Regions from separate parts of the Homo sapiens genome. Here region 1 is linked to region 2. The links are contacts of gene promoters, found by promoter capture Hi-C in blood cells and fetal thymus (Javierre and others, 2016). All regions are on one chromosome and are shown on one strand. The core of a region is centred on a gene start or on the middle of the fragment in contact, and the rest is flanking DNA. Distances in the headings are between cores, read along the strand shown.

Region 1 (5,915 bases), core at 2,337-4,836, 260 kb after region 2:
CTGAATGGCAGGATGTGCAGGGAGGGTTGTCAGGAAGGGGCCATTTATCAGAAGGAGAGAACAGACACCAGAAAGGGCATGGGCTGTCAATCAAATACCGTTGAGGTGTTTGGGAGTGTGGAGTGGTCACCTCTGAGGCCATTTGCATGATAAAGACCCATGTGAACTTCCACCAGTTTTGAAAAGAGACCTGGCCATCCTGGGAAGAAAAAGACTGTCTGGAAGGGCAGTGGCTGGGCCCCTGGAGATCAGAGGCTTTTATGACTCCCTGGAGGGAATGCATTGCAGCTGGCATGGAGGGTGAGGCTGCCAAGAGCTCACCACATCAAAGGGGTGGGCATGGCAGTGGGGGGCTCTGGGGTGCACCAATGGTTTCGATCAAAACAGGAGCCATGCCCAGACCAGGAGGAGCGTTCTGTGTGGTGAGGGTCCTGTAGAGGATAGCATACGGAATAAACGTCAGGATCACACTGGGGAGACTGACGCAGCTGAGCCAGGAGGCAAGGAAGAAAGAGGAAGACTGTATTCTGTCCAGTTGGTATAAAAATCAAACTCAGCCAGCATCGCCCTCTGCTTTATGTTCAACTCTCCAGGTAGCCACCTAGAAAACCTTTTCACACCCATTGTCCCCACCCTCTGAGTAGACAGAATGGAGAGTTTTATTTCACAGCTGGAGAAACTAGGGCTAAAGGAGCTCAATGATCTCACTGGTGTTACTTCCTAACCAGACCTGTGCTGTGGGACTGTCCCGCAGGACGAAAGCAGCAGCTAGGCGTGACCATGGGGAGCCCCCTTGCCCCATAGGTAAATGCCGTCACCCTTTCCCAGCCTCAGATGATAGGGGTTCTGGGACAGAGAGACCCTGAACATAGAGTGCTGTGGGGAGTGGCGCATGCCTGGAACATGCTGTGTGGACAGAGGAGGTGGGAGAGATGAGGTGGTTTGGGCTAAGTAGAAGAGCAACTGTGGGAGGGACTGCATTCTGGAAACCCCAGAGCAGGGGATGAGGAAGAAATTGATCAAGCAATCCTCCCAGCTCGACCTCCCAAAGTCCTAGGATTACAAGCTTGAGCCACTGTGCCTGGCCTACCTGGATTGTGGTGTGTGTATCTGCTCTCTGGGCCTCAGTTTCCCCATTTGGTGAACATTGGGCCCTGGGTTAGGTGCTTCCTATATATGCTCCCTTATTCTTGTGAGAACTTCATCCCTAATTATCTGATGAGAAAGCTGAGGGTCAGGCAGAGCCAGTGGGACTTGAAGTCAGGGCCACCTGCCTCTAGTAGCCTGGCATTGACTCTAAAAATGACGAGTGGGAGGAGGGCAGGTTGGTCCAAGATGATTCCCTCAGCTCCTGCCTGCTTCTGCGGTCTCTCTGGAGATGCCTGCAAGGCTCTGCTGGGCCCCAGCACTGTCCCCTCAGCTAGGGAGCAGTTGGCAGGGTTCCCACTGTTCAGTCAGGTAAGGGCCTGCTGCTCTTCAGTGTGGCCTGTGTTTGGTGCCCATCCTATAGCCCAGAGTGCCAAGAGAGCATGCCATCTACCCTGCCTGGGAGGGCGGCCTTGTGCTTAGCTTGAGTTTTATTTCCTCCAGCCCCTGGTAGCCCCTTCGCCCCTGCCAGCCTATCTGCTGTGGGTGTGGGCTCCAGCTCTGTCATATTCTGTCCGTGTCCAGGGCTATGCACAGAGCCACAGTGCTGGCGAGGAGGGGCGCTGCCAGGGGTGGCCCAGAATCTAGACCCTGAATGGCACTGGGGAAGCATGGGCTGCTCCCTTTTCCTTTCTCTCTTTGTTACTGAGATGCACCTTGTTATCGTAAAGGGCACTGGGCCCCTGTATAGGGCTCAAGGAAATTTACATTTCCACACACTCTTGCAGCCATACATTAGGTCAACCTGGGGACCTTTCCCAGCACCTCCAAGGCTCCTTCTGCTCCCCCAAGTCAAGTTACCTCCCTGCACCAGTGATTACCACTATTTTGACTTCTGTCACTGTAGATCCCTGTTGCCAGGTTTTGAACTTATGTAAAGGGAGTCATAGATCGTGCACACTTCAGGTAGTGTCTGATGTCATGCTGTGTGCATCCTTCAGACTGTCTCTGTTGTGTATGTCAGTGATTCTACTTCATAGCTATGTGATGCTCTCTTACGTAAATATACAATCGTTTATTTATGGTTCTCATACTGATGGAAAGGGGCATTGCTGACAGTTTGGGGCTACTACACATGACCCTACTGTGATCCTTCTTGAATTGGTGGATTTTAGCTTTAGGAGAGACAGCTGCAGACTTTTCCAAAGTTTACACTCCTTCCTTCTTTCATTATTATTTTTTAACCAACTCCACTGAGGTGTAATTTACATACAGTAACATACACATATTTTAAGTAAGCAGTTAGATGAGTTTTGACACATTCATGAATTTATTTTTTATGAGACCAGGATCTCACTATGTTGCCCAAGCTAGTCTCGAACTCCTGGGCTCAAGCGATCCTCCTGCCTCAGCCTCCCAAGTATCTGGGACTACAGGCATGCACCACCATGCCCAGCCAATTTTAAAAATTTTTCGTAGAGAAGGTGATCTTGTTATGTTGCCCAGGCTGGTCTTGAATTCCTGACCTCAAGTGATCCTCCTGCCTGGGCATCCGGAAGCTCTATTACAGGCATGAGCCACCACTCTGGGATCTGACAAACTTTCTGTAGTGTTGAAGTTCAGTGACTTGGAGTAGTCACCTCCAGCTCAAGGTGCATGTGCCTGTGTGTTTTCTCCTTTTTTTGATAAAACCCAGGCTCAGCACAGGGTCGAGAAAAAGACTGAAAGTCAGCCCAGAAAGCAGTGTAGAAAGTAGAAAGCTAGTCTGGACTACCATTAGCATCAAGGACCTCAGTCACTGGAGCCATTGAGATGGGTCCACCCCTTCTCCCTCTCTTTCTCTCTCTCTCTTTTTCTTTCTTTAATTCATTAGCAAGAGGGTCTGTCTCACTATGTTGCCCAGGCTGGAAAACCTGGGCTCAAGCAACCCTCCCATCTCAGCCTCCCAGTCCCAGCTCAATCTTTCTTTTTAAAGTTGGAGAATTTTCTAAAGTTCTCCAACTTTAAAGGCTGCTGCCTAGGGAGGCAGGGCTGCACCCACGGGCAGAGTTAGAGGCAGAGCTGGAACAGAACCCCAGCATGGGAAGTCCGTGTTCACGGGGGGCCATTTCACCCTGGGACATTGTAGGGCAGCTCGAGGCTCTGACTAGGGAGGCCCAGCGCCTGGGGCTGGCGCTTGGTCCGAGCTCTGCAGGCTTTCCTGGGTGGAGAGGAGCCTCTTCCTGCCATGCACACCAGGCCTTCCTTAAGTGACTCAAACACCAATCTTCCTTGGGCTTCCTGAACTGTGAGGATTCCACAGTCTGGCAGGGCTGGTGGCCTCAGCCGTACACTCTGCAGCCAAGAGGGCTCTAGCTCCTGATTCCACCCTGTCCCTCAGCGGCTCCCCAGTGCTCTTCCAGGCCTTAGGCCTGCACCATCCCCACCTCTCCCTCCTCACCAACCTGCCACCTCCTGCCTCAGGTGGACACACTCAGGAGGAAGTCAAGCCTGTCCCTATACAAAAGCCATATTCCCAGGCACTTGCCTGAGTAGAGACGAAGTCTCAGCTCCTTCTACGTGAGCCCGAGGTGCCCACGGTCCCCACACCCCCTCCAGGAGTCCTTGCATTTGCGCAATGCTTTATACTCATCTGTCAGCTCGGCAGTGGGTCCCCCAGAGGGTGAAAACCACATTGTCCCTGTCTCATCAGCAACCAGAACAGGGGGCACCAACTGTGGCCTCCTCCCATATTTGTCGGGAGACTGAATGATTCTCAGGAAGCTGCGCGGCCACCGGCCATTTCACATGGGCATTTCCAAGCTGGGTGCTTTTTGCACCATGCTATTTTGGGCGGGAAGACTTTTCCAGTCCCTTTCTCCTTGGCATGCCACAGAAGAATTTCCTTCACCCACATCTGGATCATCTAGAATTACCCAGTTCAGCCTGTTGCTTTCAATGGCAAACGTCCAGTGCATGGTGTTGGCTCATTTTCATCCCCACTGTCTAGGAGCCCTTGAGCCTTGAGCTTTGGTTCACTATGGGCAGTCTCTTCCCTCCAGGCCTTGGCTAGAGCCAGGCAGGGACAGTGCCCACTCAGGGGCCGATCCACCTCGCTGGGGGCCACCAGTTCGAGCTGGGTGCTCTGTGAAACCAGTCATACCCAAGCTACTGGACTCTGGTCACTCCATGATCCTTGGCAAGATGTCTGTCTATGAACCGCAGTCCCTCTATCTGTAAAATGAAGGATCCTAGACTGGGACTCTCAAGCTCACTTGCCTACAGGGGCCAGGCAGGTACCTTAGGGAAGGGAGAAGGTTGGAGTGTTGGTGGAGAGCTGATATGGTAAAGGAAAGGAAGAAGCAGGCCAGTATATTCTGATTTTTTTTTTTTTTTTTGAGACGGAGTCTCGCTCTGCTGCCCAGGCTGGAGTGCAGTGGTGCGATCTCAGCTCACTGCAACCTCCACCTCCCGGGGTCAAGCAGTTCTCTGCCTCAGCCTCCTGCGTAGCAGTGAGTGCCACCATGCCTGGCTAATTTTTTTGTATTTTTAATAGAGACAGGGTTTCGCCATCTTAGCCAGGCTTGTCTTGAACTCCCGACCTCGTGATCCACCCGCCTCGGCCTCCCAAAGTGCTGGGATTACAGGCGTAAGCCACCGCACCTGGCCTATGTTCTGATTTTTCAGACGAAGTCAGAAATTTCTAAGAGAAGCAAAAGTTCCTGATCTGTACAAATCTGGCAACTTTTCTTTTTTTTAACTCTGTATGTGCCAGACGCGTTTAAGCCAGAGCAGCTCCATCTTGAATAAGGGCTGGGTAAAATGAGGCTGAGACCTACTGGGCTGCATTCCCAGCAGGTTAAGGCATTCTAAGTCACAAGATGAGCTAAGAGGTCGGCACAAAATACAGGTCACAAAGACCTTGCAGATAAAACAGGTTGTGGTAAAGGAGCCGGCCAAAACCCACCTAAACCAAGGTGGCGACAAAAGTGACCTCTGGTTGTCCTCACTGCTCATTATGAACTAATTACAAAGTATCATCATGTTAAAGACACTCCCACCAACGCCATGACAGTTTACAAATGCCATGGCAACATCTGGAAGCTACCCATATGGCCTAAAAAGGGGAGGAACCCTCGGTTCAGTGAAATCTCTGCCTCTTTCCTGGAAAACTCATGAATAATCTACCCCTTGTTTAGCATATGACCAAGAAATAACTATAAGTATACTCAGTCAAGCAGCCCATGATGCTGCTCTGCCTTTGAAGTAGCCATTCTTTTATGCCTTTACTTTCCTAATAAACTTGCTTTCACTTTACTCTATGGATTCACCTCAAATTCTTTCTTGTGCTAGATCCAAGAACCCTTTCTTGGGGTCTGGATTGGGACCCCTGTCCTGTAACATATGGACCAGCTATTTGAGCTCTGGCCTAGACATCCTGCTCTATATACCTTCCCCCTGGGGGATTGGTGGGTGGTGGCAGGGCGGGAACCCCAGAAAGGTGCAGGGCTTGAATTCTGACTACACCTGCCTCTCCCCACACACCAGCTGTCATGTCACAGGCACCCTTTGCAGTGTGATCGCCTTCCTTTTGGGGCGCCCGAGCTAGCATATGAATTTTTGATCAGCTTGCCTTTTGAATGAGTTGACTATCATGAATAACAGGGCAAAGGGCGCCAGCATTGTGTCTTTAACTATAACTGTTCCAATTAATTATGGGTGTAATTAGCATACATCGTGAGCAGCCCTGGAAAATAATACTTCATGGGTTATAGATGCCCTGGCAGCTGTAACATGAAGTGTGATACCGGGCTGGGGTAGAGATAGTTATTAATAAATTACTCCCATTG
Region 2 (6,274 bases), core at 730-3,229:
TGGTTGCGAGGGCTACACATGATGGAGGATGAGGACTGGCACATCAGAAGTACTGAATGAAGAATTGTAACATAAAAATGACAACAGTAATATATTTTTGTGGTTTCAGCACTCTTCAAATGAAACCACCTGGCCAACAGGATTTTAGTGTACCTGCTTATAACATTAGCCTTCGTTTCCACCAAAAAGGGTGTTAAAAAAGGAAGCTTGGAACATGAAAGTAAGACACTTGGATGAAGAGATTTATGACTCTGGGGGGCTGTGAATTCCTAATGTCCTTTTGAGACATGTAGATCTTCCAGAGCGATGCTGCCCAATGCAGTAGCCACTAGCCAAGTGCAAATGGTCACTTGCAATATGGCTAGTCTTTGAGATGTGTTTTAAGTGTAAAATACACACTGAATTTTAAAGACTTAGCGCAATACAAAGAATGTAAAATATCTCATTATATCTTGAAATTATACTATTTTGGATATATGGTGTTCCCTTGGTGTCTTTGGGGACTGGTTCCAGGATCCTAGAGGATACCCAAATCCCCAGATGTCAAGTCCGCTATATAAAATGTCCTGTAGTATTTGCATATAACCTACACACATCCTTCTGAATACTTTAAATCATCTCTAGATTCCTTGTAATTCCTAATACAATGTAAATGTTATGTAAATAGTTGTTATACTATATTAAAAAGTTTTTTATTCTTTATTTTTGCTGTATTATTCTTTTTGCATATTTTCAGTCCACAGATGGTTGATGCCACAGATGTGGAACCTGTGAATAAGGAGGGCTGACTGTATTGAGTTAAGCGAAATATATTATTAATATTTCATCTATTTCTTTTTACTTCTAAAAGATGTGGCGACAAGAAAATTTAAAATTACAAATGTGGCCCACATTATATTTCTATTGGGCAGTGCTGCTCTAGAGAGTCGGCAAAAAGGGCAGAATGGAGCCTCCATTATACAGATCACAAAACTGAGCACAGGTAATTCACTCCAAAGGTCGGGGCTGGTCTCACTCTGAGCTGCGGGTTTTCTTTTCCCACGCCAGAGCTGCCTGGTGCCAGGACGAGCGTAACACGGACCCACAGTGTCCCCAGAAGGGGGCAGGCGTTCTGAGAGCCACAAAGGTGGGGTGGAATCCCTTGATGTCGACCGCCACCATCCCCCTCCCCCCGCGCGACCTCCCCGCAGAGACCTCCCCAGACAAAACAAACAAACCCTTGGGTCTGGCGAACTGCAGCGGGGAGCGGAAACCAAGGAAGATCAAAGACTCAGCGGTTACCCCCTTCCGGGCCGCGCAGTTTGGCAGCGCGCCCCGACCCGGGCGGGCACCCACGGGCCCCCGGACGAGGAGATCCCAGAGACTGGCTGATAACGGGGCGCTTTGGACATTTGTCGCTGCCTGGAGAGGGCTGGGCTCACACTGGCCCGGGGTGCGCTGGGGGCTCCTCCTGGACTCCCCAAATAAGAAACTAGAGGAGTGCGGTGGTGGGGGGCGGGTCACGGGGCGGGTAATGAACACTTTCTGCAGAAGGTAGGTCGTGGGAAGACTGGGAAAAGGCAGCGCTGCCGAAGCTTGCACCTGAGCAGCTAAGGTCTCCGCTCCCGACCTCAGTTTCCCCACCTGTAAATTGGAGCCGCCGAGTCCCGCCCTGCCCGTTTAGAGAGAACGTGGAGCGGAGGGAAGTGACAGTACAGTTAGCGATGGCCGGGCTGTTCTGTCCCAATACGCCTCCTGGACAAGCCGCCCCGCCGGGTCGCCAGCCCTGGAGCTCGGCCCCCGGCCCCAGACCGCGGCAGGGAGCGCGGACTGTGTCCCGCCCCTCCCGTCAGCGCCCCGCCCTCGTCCCCGCCCTGCCCCGCCTCCGGCCCCGCCCCCGCCGCAACCAGCCTTGCCTTTGATGCGCCGCACCGGCCAATGGGCGCGCGGGGAGGCGCGGGCCGCGGCGGCGGGCTGGGGGCTCGGCGCTCCCGGGCGTCAGTCGGGCCGCGGCGACGGCGGCAGGAGCGCGTCCCGGCGCCGCCTCGGGCTCCGCTCGGCTCGGGGGCTGCTTCGGGAGGAGGAGAGCCAAGGGAGGCGCCAGGCCCGCGGGCCGGGCGCATGGCTTAGGGACGCTCCCGGCCGCCGCAGCCCCAGCATGGGGAAACTTCACTCCAAGCCGGGTCAGTGCCCCCGCCCGCGCGCTCGCCCCGGGCCCCGCCGCCGTCGCCGCCGCGGTCGCTAACTCTCTCCCTTCCTTTCTTTCCTTCTCCCGCCGCCGCGGCTGCCGCCGCCGCCGCCGCCTCGCGATGTGCCTGCAGCCGCCGTGTGCAAGCGCAGGGAGAGCCCGGAAGGTAGGGGCGCGCGGGGCGCAGACCTCGGGGATGGACGCGGGGGACACCGCGGCCGCGGCAGAACGGCCCAGCCCGCCAGGTCTTATGACCAGGGCCACCCCGAAGCCCCAGTTCCGGCCACCGGCCCCCCAAGCCCGCTCCCTGAGCAGCCTTCGCGCCCCCTCCTCTGTCCCTCCTACCCGCTCCCCGCGGTCCTGCGCTCCCACCGCTGACCCTCAACCCCTCCCCCTCCCGCGTCCCTGCCCTCGGCTCTCACGGCACCCTCTCTTCAGACCCCCAAGCGCCTCCCCGCAAGACCCTGCCCCCTCTTCCTGCCCCCCGGCCCTTCTTCCGATATCCTGGCTCCTGCACCTACTGCGGCCCCTCTCCTGACCCCCAGCCCTCTCCTCCGCAGTCCTGGCTGCCAGTGCTCCCTGGTCTGATCCTAAACCCGTCCTCCTGGGGTACTGCTCACCCCTCTTGCCCCCTTCTGGCTCCTCGCTCCTAGGGCTTCGCTGAACCCCCCTTTACTTACCCGCGTCCCTCTCTTGGCTCCTGCCCCAGCCCGCGAACCCCCTCCTGGCCCCCGTGCCGTGGTCCTTCGCCTCCCACCGCGCCTCCTTCTTCCCTCCGCGGGGGTAACTTTTGGCACCTGGAGCCAGACTCAGGGGCTTCATGTCGTCCCCGTCCCAGGTGACAGCTTCGCCGTGAGCGCTGCCTGGGCTCGGAAGGGCATCGAGGAGTGGATCGGGAGACAGCGCTGCCCGGGCGGTGTCTCGGGACCCCGACAGCTGCGGTTGGCGGGCACCATAGGCCGAAGCACCCGGGTATGATTCCCCACCCCTGCCCCACCTCCTGGCCTCCTTTCAGCCTCAGAGATGGGTCCCCAAACCCATGCACCCCAACTTTGAGCACTTTCCTGCACAGCTTCTGGGTCTGAAAATCTCTTCTCAGCTGCCCCCTGCCCCACCAACGCGACCCTCTGCCCGCATGCCTTGGAGAACCTCGAAGTGCCCAGCTGGAGGCAGAGGGCTGCCTGGGGGAAAGGTCCTAGGTGGGGAGGTGGTGAAGGTCCAGTTGATGGGGAATCGTGTCTGTACCGGCGGGATTTGGGGGCCTGCTCTGACTTCTACCTTGTTTCTGCCACCAGCATTCAAAGGTGGAGGTGGAGTAGGGGCTAGAGAGAAGGGGGTATTAGGGGTGTCTGGGTGGAAGGCAGAGCTGTGCTGGCCCCAGGATCTGAATATGTTCTGATTGTCTGTGGCATTCATCAGTACCACCTGTACAGGAACCCCAGTAGAGCAGGCGGCCCTCTGGGTAGCAGATCTAGGGGGACTGAGACCTGGAAGACCCCTTACTTGGCATATGAGATAGAGGGCCTCATTCCACTGTAGCCTGGGCAGAGCCCTGAGCCTTCACCCCGTGTGTCTCTGAGGCTGGAGTTCCTGGAGGAGCACTAAGTGTGATGGGAATGAGTGAGTCCAGCCCCAGCTCCTGGCCTGGGACTTGGCGTTCACAGATGTCCTGTGAGCTCCGGAACTCTGCACGGGGCTTTCAGGCAGTCTGCGTGGAACTCGCGCAAGCCTAGGATCAAAGGATGAATCAACTTTTTGATGTGACATTTAATTTTTTTTTTTTTTTTTAACTTAGAGGGGGAATAGACTGAGTCTCAGGTCTGGTTAGTTCTTTGGTCTTATCCATGGGCTGGGGAGAGGCCAGTGGAGACTTCAGATGTGTTTGTATTTGGGTGGTGGGACCTGGCAGCTCGCTTGCAGTGCTGGTGTCGGGAGGTGGACCTGTGGATAAAGTCAGTTCCTGTGTGTGGATGAAATAACCTCTGGGCCTAGGAGAAGCTCCCCTGTCCTCCTCCACCGCCACTGCTTAGCTGGGGGCTTCTCTGTCTTCTGTTGGCCGGGTCGGACTTGGAGCTGCTGTCCCCTAGTAAAGGTCAAATCTTGGTGGGCGGGGGGCACTGCAGTTGGGGCCCTTTAAAAAGAGAACTACAAACCTCTCCTTCTTCCCCTGCCCTTTCTAGTTTTTGATCTACTTATTTATTTAAAGGCCAACGAAAACGGTCTAATTTAGCCGTATGAACAAATGCATTTACAGCTCCAGACAGAGGCCAACTGAGTGGATTTCCATTAATCAAGTTTTGGGTTTTTTCAGCCTGTTTATTTTTACAAAGTATTCCTGCAGAATGACATTTATTTGCAGTCCCTCCTTTTTCTTTTTCTTTTCTTTTTTTTCTAAACTGCCAGGCAGCTTGCTCCATGCTAGAGGGAAAACTTGAAATACAGCGAGGGCTTACTTCAATTGACTTTTATCTTCAAAGCCATAACAAATGTTACCCGCATGTTTTTGGTGGGTCTCCTTGGCATCCAGTCTGGGAGGATGGGAGGGAGGAGGAAAGAGGGAGAGGAAAACAAAAGTCTGTCGTTTTTAATTAAATAGTAGTGTTCCCAGCGAGAGGAATGCAGGCCACTAAAGTTGCCATTGGGGGAAGTGAGGGAGGGTGGGGAGGGGGCCCCAGCTTAAGTCTGTGGCTTTGGTGAAGTCACGGAATTCTGTTGCCTAGTTTCTTCCCCCAGCTGAGGACAGCATGGGATGGTGCCTGTCCCCCTCTCTCCCTCACCCCCTCTCTCAGAGAAATGCTGAGAGGTCATTAATGTTTGTTCAAAGTACTTTTGAAGATGTGAGGCTCAGAGCCGTTGGCATGACATGTGTCAGGTGGTTGGAGGGTGGGCCGCAGCCATCAAAGTTGTTATGCAGGGGGCCGGCCTCTGTCTCCTTGGGAGTTGTTCTTGCTGCTGGGGACCCAGACGCCTGGGTTTTCACCAACCTTGGCCCCAGATGGCCCAGCCAGTGTGTCTGCAGAGGTAGGGATAAGGAGTCAGAACTTCAGGGGGAGCCCAGGGTGTGGAACAGCACTCCAGGCATCCTCCAGGTGATTTCAGGTGGAATCTGGGGGAACATTTTAAATCTTAATAGTTATCTTTTTTTTTTTACCAGAAAAAAAAATAACTAGGACATCAAACCCATGATTTTGCAGATTTTATTGCTTAGGATGAAGCTAAGTTAAAAAAGAGTCTAACGTGAAGTCCATTCAGAGAAAAATATTAAGTACAAGTGGTCAAAATTGTGAATGTGGGAATGGAATGCCCCAAGTTTGGGAAGCACTAAGATATTGAACAGGACAGCAATGGGCAACCCTCAGGCTAGTTCATTTCCCTGATTCCCTCTGGTGCCGAAGGGGTAGCTGGTAGGTTCTTCCATGATATCATCAGGATGTAGGAGGGCATGGGCTCCAAAGTCTGCTGGTTTCCAAGGGCTGGCAGAGGTCCTCCCACCAACCCCAGGCCTGTTTTGGGGCTAGTCTCTGCCTCTAGTCCTTTACGTGGCCTGTCAACTAAGTGGCTGGAGACACAGTGGCTCATCCAACTAGTATTATTGTTATTGCAATGATAACTAGTATTTATTAAGTGCCTATATGTGTCAAGCACTTTGCTTACATTATCTTAATCCTCCCCATAACCTTGTAGTGTTGACAGCCCGCTGGTGTGGACTGTGTGTTTCTCCCTTTCTGGAGCACTTTCTAGGAGAAGCCATTTGTAGAGAAGCCCTGTGCCAGGGCATCCGCCTGGAGGGTGCTACATACAAAACTCCCAGAGAGGGGGTGCTTCGAGATGAGCCAGTCGTGGGGCAGGCAGAAGCAGGAGTGGCCCCTGTTTGCCCTCTTCCTTCCTGATGAGGTCTGAGGGGCTTGGGAAATGTCCCAGATGAGTCCAAGTTGCCTGCAGGGTCCTGAGATGTGAAAGGGTGACCATGCTGGCATTAAACTAAGCCTGCCCTCTTAAATACAGAAATAAATGAGGTCAGGCTCTGTCCTAGTGATTTGTCACCTGTGCAAACCATTTTGCCCTTGTATACCTTAATTAGCTCATCTGCAAAATGGGTGTAATAAT

Evidence for each region. Contacts are between HindIII fragments. The CHiCAGO score rates a contact against its expected background, and 5 or more counts as called.
Region 1: a contact is called between a fragment that was not itself captured here and the fragment with the promoter of NKD1 in region 2, in 9 of 17 cell types (activated CD4 T cells, neutrophils, non-activated CD4 T cells and 6 more). The highest score is 11.3, in activated CD4 T cells.

What each region holds. Positions count from the first base shown.
Region 1 is chr16:50,809,051-50,814,965 of GRCh38, forward strand. No RefSeq gene overlaps it. Among named protein-coding and RNA genes, the nearest start is that of LINC02168, 5.3 kb to the left of the region's middle. RefSeq lists enhancers at 92-1,091, 918-1,027. The HindIII fragment of the contact is 5,044 bases long and covers 1,065-5,915 here.
Region 2 is chr16:50,546,417-50,552,690 of GRCh38, forward strand. NKD1 (NKD inhibitor of Wnt signaling pathway 1) reads left to right here and starts at 1,980. Exons shown (of 10, transcript NM_033119.5): 1 at 1,980-2,162; 2 at 2,301-2,333; 3 at 3,006-3,139. The coding sequence starts at 2,138. RefSeq lists silencers at 1,623-2,072, 2,113-2,302. The HindIII fragment of the contact is 5,196 bases long and covers 1,573-6,274 here.